Regions from separate parts of the Homo sapiens genome. Here region 1 is linked to region 2. Evidence: promoter capture Hi-C in human tissues and cell types (Jung and others, 2019). All regions are on one chromosome and are shown on one strand. Each heading gives the region's core, a stretch centred on a gene start or on the middle of the fragment in contact. The rest is flanking DNA. Distances are from core to core; before and after follow the strand shown. Region 1 overlaps NR6A1 (nuclear receptor subfamily 6 group A member 1). Region 2 holds the start of NR6A1 (nuclear receptor subfamily 6 group A member 1).

The links. The method cuts DNA at HindIII sites, captures the fragments that hold promoters and counts their contacts. A contact is called where the count stands out against the background at its distance.
Region 1: a contact is called between a fragment that was not itself captured here and the fragment with the promoter of NR6A1 in region 2, in 1 of the 25 tissues and cell types used here (mesenchymal stem cells).

The regions. Positions count from the first base shown.
Region 1 is chr9:124,724,145-124,726,844 of GRCh38, forward strand. All of the region lies in intron 2 of NR6A1 (nuclear receptor subfamily 6 group A member 1), which reads right to left. LOC124902269 (a long non-coding RNA gene) reads right to left here. Exons shown (of 2, transcript XR_007061772.1): 1 at 1-2,700. Among named protein-coding and RNA genes, the nearest start is that of MIR181B2, 32 kb to the left of the region's middle. The HindIII fragment of the contact is 4,902 bases long and covers 1-2,700 here.
Region 2 is chr9:124,769,978-124,772,677 of GRCh38, forward strand. It overlaps NR6A1 (nuclear receptor subfamily 6 group A member 1), which reads right to left and starts at 1,334. Exons shown (of 10, transcript NM_033334.4): 1 at 1,043-1,334. The coding sequence starts at 1,142. LOC124900274 (a long non-coding RNA gene) reads right to left here and starts at 503. Exons shown (of 2, transcript XR_007061773.1): 1 at 1-503. It overlaps LOC107987126 (a long non-coding RNA gene), which reads left to right and starts at 1,380. Exons shown (of 2, transcript XR_001746926.3): 1 at 1,380-1,796. RefSeq lists silencers at 34-283, 824-1,403 and enhancers at 1,116-1,683, 1,474-1,733. The HindIII fragment of the contact is 6,332 bases long and covers 1-2,700 here.

The sequences.
Region 1 (2,700 bases), core at 13-2,512, 46 kb before region 2:
CAATGTAATACAGAGTGGGGGAAAACAAACAGGATACAAAAATTGCATATATAGTATAGATTCCTAATTATGTAAAAGATGAGCTCGGACACAACCTGGAAGGACATACTCTCAAACGTGAAGCAATGGTTATTTCTAGGTGGTGGGATTAGAGATGCTTCTATTTTCTTTTAGTGTTTTCCATAGTGAACCATACATTATTCTACTACCAGTTTAAACAAAAACAATGTTTTTTTCTTTTAATCAAGCTACACCAAGATCCTCAACCAGCTGGTAAAAAAAGAGAAAAAAAAAAACCACACAGCTAAAAAGCTTCTAATATGTCTAACTTCAAGCAGGTACTTTCCTTGGGATTATATCCTTTGAACATCAGACAACATAGCACATACCAAAAAAAAAAAAAAATTCAATCTTCAACTTTGGAAACTGAATTAAAGTAAGTACTTTCAATTTTGGTCAATGTTTACTCTCAGTGTAATTACTTGTAGGATTATGTTACAAGAGGAGAAATGGACTTCATTATATGTAAGCCAAAAATTCAGGAACAGTATTTCTGAAATAGATAATAAGAGACAAAAAGTTTGGCGAGGAAGAACAGCTGTTGCTAATCCAACTATTTACCCTTTGACCCTCTATCTGGCCAGTAACCGAACACTATCAACTGTTTCCCTTTATTATGTGCTGTTTACAATCCCTGAGAGGCATGAAAGGAATTAATAATTTAGCCTAGAAAGCTGACAGCCTTTATTGGGAAGCCCCTTGTCTATGGGACAGAAATCAGAGCAAGTCCTGAAGTCACAGGTCCCTTTACTGTTCCTGTTTTATAGCCTAACTGGCCCCCAAACATAAATCAATTATTTCTCCTGTTTTAAGCAACAATGACTTCTATTCTCTAACTTCCCTTGTATCAAGTCGGTCCTTGTTCTCTTGAGTTTTACAGCTACACGGTAAACACGACGGCCGAGGAAAAAACTCGGGGAGCAGGGCAGACAGGGGTTATTTGGAAACAGAAGCACAGAAAGGTTATGCTGTTTTGAACTTCTCTTGACCTTTGACTGCCCTTGTCCCTAGCTTATGCTAATGGACATGGTACAGGGACACTTCTTGTAGAAATGAACTTAGCCTGAACCTGTGCCATAACATTGGACTCCAGGAAGTCCAGGAATCATAGGAAGGCAGCCAGAGTGTGAACAGCTGCCCATATTCTGAGCATGGCTGCCCATCTGCTTTATCACACTAAAGGTATTTAAAAAAAAAGAAAAAAAAAAAGCCAAGCCATTTAATTGGACAAAGTCAGTCTTTCCTCAACTAGTTCCCACATGACACCTGCTGTCCCAAACCTGCTGCCTACAACCACTGCCATGCACAACTGGAAATTAGCAACGAAGTATTTCCTGTTCCAAAATAAGGGAGTGTGAGCAGGCTTTCCTATCAGGAATCTGGGGAATGGGGGGCAATATTTGGGCCTCCAAATTCCAAAGATACAACACAAGGAAATCTGTAATATCCTCAAAAGTCATGCGGGGCTCGGCCTGGTAATCCCAGCACTTTGGGAGACCAAGGCAGGAGGATCACTTGAGCCCAGGAGTTTGAGACCAGCCTGGAGAGCATGGCAAAAATTCGTCTCTAGTCAACTTAAGAGAAAAATACCAAATTTTAAAAACTTTTTAAAATACTGACAAATTCGGATCAAATTTGAGGGAATAAAAAATGTTAGACCAAAGGAGTTTGCTGGTTGTGTCATTATTTAATGATCAAAGTATAGTGTGTATGCCTTGTAACAGACTTGTTGACTACAGGCTTAATGTAAATGAGAATCTTGCCAGATGTAGCTACTTAAGGGAAAAGAAGGGTTTTTAACAGAAATGAACTTTTGATTAGTTCTTACATTTTTATGGTACCAATCACAGGGCAAAATTTCCTGAATATTGGGTGATGTCAAAGGCATATCATACTTGAGGAAATCAGGCCAAGTATAGCTCAGTAATTACATTCATAAACACTCAAGTTTTTTTAGTTGGGGTCATGTCAAACCCTCACATCGTTGTTAAGTAGTGACTGTAACTGTGTATGTCCTTAGTGGTAGGTGAGCACCAGTCTCCATGACCAAAAATGTCCCCTAAAATCCTTTGAAAAAGCCACTAGTTCTGTGAATTGTCCTTCTCCCTCCTGCCCCTAACTGTCCTGCACCTCTAGCCTACATTAGCATATTTCTCATGTAATGTATTTTGCTGGTAAGTTCATCGGTTAGCTGCATCCTTCAGCTATTCCTTTATATTGGGGAGCAAAACCTTTAGATTGGAGGAAGTGGAGATGAAGATGGATTGATTCAGCTCACGTTCCATGATTGCTTCTTAGTGAAAAGCTACATCGGCCACATTTCAGATTTTCACTTTTGCAATTTGGGGAGGGTGGAGAGAGGTAGACTTTTTGCTTGTTTTATAAAGTCCTCTCAGTAAGGAGTGTTTGAGTTGAAGAGGCATCTAATTCGAGACCACTCATGTTCTTTGTAACTTAAGCTTTGACCAAGAAATTCTTCACTTCTTCTCACTTCTTCACTTCTTCCCAATATACAGTAAATACATGAGCCAGTCATCCATACACTAAAGCCTAGTTGAGAAAAACCTTTGATTCAGGATGGCTGGGTTACTAACCTTGGAATGTAAGAGATCTGGTTTTGAATGTAAAATTCGTAACACA
Region 2 (2,700 bases), core at 84-2,583:
CGCAGGGGGAGGGAGCGAAGGGGAGGAGGGCGAGGAAGCCCCGAGGAACCTGAGGACCCGGCCCGGGCGAGGGGGCGAGGGACGAGCGGTAGGAAGGGCCGGGCCAGGTGAGGGATTCTCAGCTCCCAAGGTCCCGGATCGGGACAAGAAAGAGGAGAACTGAGACTAAGAGGTGGGGACCGGGACCTGCCGGGCAGAAGCCGGGAGGAGGCAGGTGTCCGGGGCCCCGGGGCGGGCTGGAGCCCTCGGCCAGGGAAAGCCGTTGCCTGGCGGAGAGGGGAGCTGAGCAGGGGCGGAGACCGGCCAGAGCGCGCGGGGCGTTGAGGAAGGTGAGGCGCAGGGGAAGCAGGAGGCGCGAAGGGGTCCGAAAAAGGAAACGACTGGGGGATGTCTAGCGAACGGGGGTTCGGCAGAGGTGGGGGGCTCGTAGTATTCAAGGAAGAACGCTCGAGGCTGCAGAAGAGGAAAACGCTCTAGAAAGCTGAGCGGTACAAGGGTGCTGTGGAGTCGGGTCAACAGGGCAAGAAGGGAGCGTCCTCGGTGGGAGGAGGAACCCCTGTAGGGGAAAAGAGAGGCTCTGCGTTAAGGGAACCCGAGTGAGGGGATGCCCCCACTGACGGACCGCGGTGGGGACTTCCAACCTGAGGAGCCCGGGGGGAGGGGAAGGTTCGGTGCTGGGAAGACAGGGGGAGGGGACCCGGGGGGAGGAGGGAGGATTGGTGCTGAGGGGACGGGGGGAGGGGAAGCCTGTGCAGAGGGGACGGGGGGAGGGGGAAATGAAGCTCGGTGCCCAGGGACCCGGGCAGGGGGAGGGTCCGCGCAGAAGGGAACAGGGACGAAGGAGGAGGATCCACCCTGAGCGAGACCGGGGAGGAGAGGGAGGGTCCGCGCCAACGGGGAACGGGGTGAAGGGCCACCCTAAGGGGCCGCGGGGCCGCTGCGGCTTCCCAGGGCGAGGGTCGGCAGAGAGGAGGGGGATCCCTGGCGGAGGCTCAGGAAGCCGGTTCCTGCCTGGCCCGGGCGTCGCAGGCCCCTCACCCACCGTTGCGCGGCGGCGGAGGGAGCGCGGCGGGAGGCTCCAGGAACCCCGCCGAGCCCCCGCCGCCTCCCCCTCCGCTAGGCGGCGGTTCGTCCCGCTCCATGCGGTGGTGCCTAGGGTCCGCGCCGGGTTTGTTGCTCCGCCATGACCGGCGCCCTAGTCGCCGTGGTCGTCGTCCGCCGAGGGGAGGAGGTTGTCAGGAGCCCGCGAGCTCCCGGCCGCGGCTCTCTCTGGGCCCCGAGCCGCCCGGCTCCGCGCCGCTCCGCGCCCCTCCGCGCCGCGCCCCCTCAGCACTGGCCAGCTCCCTCCCCTGACGTCACACGCCGCTGCCGCGCAAGGCCCTGCGGGGCACGCTGGAAGTTGGAGTCCGCTCAGCGAGGCCGGCCACGCCGACCGCACCAACTGAAGGGGTGGAAGGAGGGATAAGAAGTCCTGAGAAGGGAAAGCTAAAGTCTGTCAATATCAAGAACCATGACAAAGCGTTTGATGTCTATGTAGTAAGCGGATACTTCCGGGCCTTGTCTTGATTGTGATTTCTACCTGATCAAAGTTCCCTAAGAGTCCTCGTAACCCCCCACCCCAACAATGAGTCTTTGCGAGGAGGTGGATCGCGAGGCAGCCGGGTGAGCACGTGCAACGAAGCCCAGCCCTGTGGGCGGGGCCCTGGAGGCGGGGCTTGAAGGTACTCACGTGGGCCTCTCCCTGCCGCTGCGGGACAAATTGGACCGGAGATTAAAGGACCGGAGTTTAACTCGAGGTGACTGCGTTCGTATGCAAATGGAATATATAAAACTCTTCTTTCCGGGGTAGTCTTTAAAGACTTTTTACCTCCGGGTGGGCGGCAAAGACTAAAGTTTCCCCTCCTCCCCTTTCATTTTCCCCCTGCCCATAGAACAGATGGGCAAACTAAGCTCCGGGCCATTGGGGCTATTAAAGAAAGCCCTAGGCTCTTGACCCCAGGTGTCTTGAAACCTTCCGTTTAAGAGGGATCCCTTGCCCAGCCTTGTTTGCCTTCCCCTTTCCTCAGTTTCCCTATCTGTAAAAGGGGGTTGGAATAAGGACAGGATCAAGTTGGAAGATCGCAAACCCCTGCCCCTCCCACCTCAGTTTCCCGAAGCTTTCCGGAAGCAAAATCCCGAATTTTGCAGCGGCTCCCGGCCGAATCCACCCGCTGCGGCCACCAGGTGGCGCGCGGCCACCGGTCACTAGGCCCGCCGGGGTGTCCGTCTTCGGCGACCCCATCGGGAAAGGATTTCGCTGCTGCCGCCAAGGGTCTAAGGCCTACCTGGCCCACTTGAAGACAAAGAACGAGAACGTTGGTGCTTTGCCCACTTCTGCTCTGCCGGATTATGCTGCAGCTTCCTCGGTGGCCGCTCATTCGCCCTCTCCTGCCCCACCCGCCCCACCAATCCCTTAGCCCTTTTATTTTTTTTTTGCCTAATTTTAAGTCCTCGTCCTGGCATTCGCATCCCTGCTTGGCCTGACCCTTGCCCACATTTCGCACCATACCCCGTCCCTCACCTGCTACGAAAGTTGCAACGCTTCTCTGCACTTGGGGGCAACTGGACCTTACCAACCCTGGTGAAACTGTATTTCATACGTAATCTGGGAGACTTACATTAACGCTCTGCCGTCTAAACCTCATACCTGCTCTATGAGAT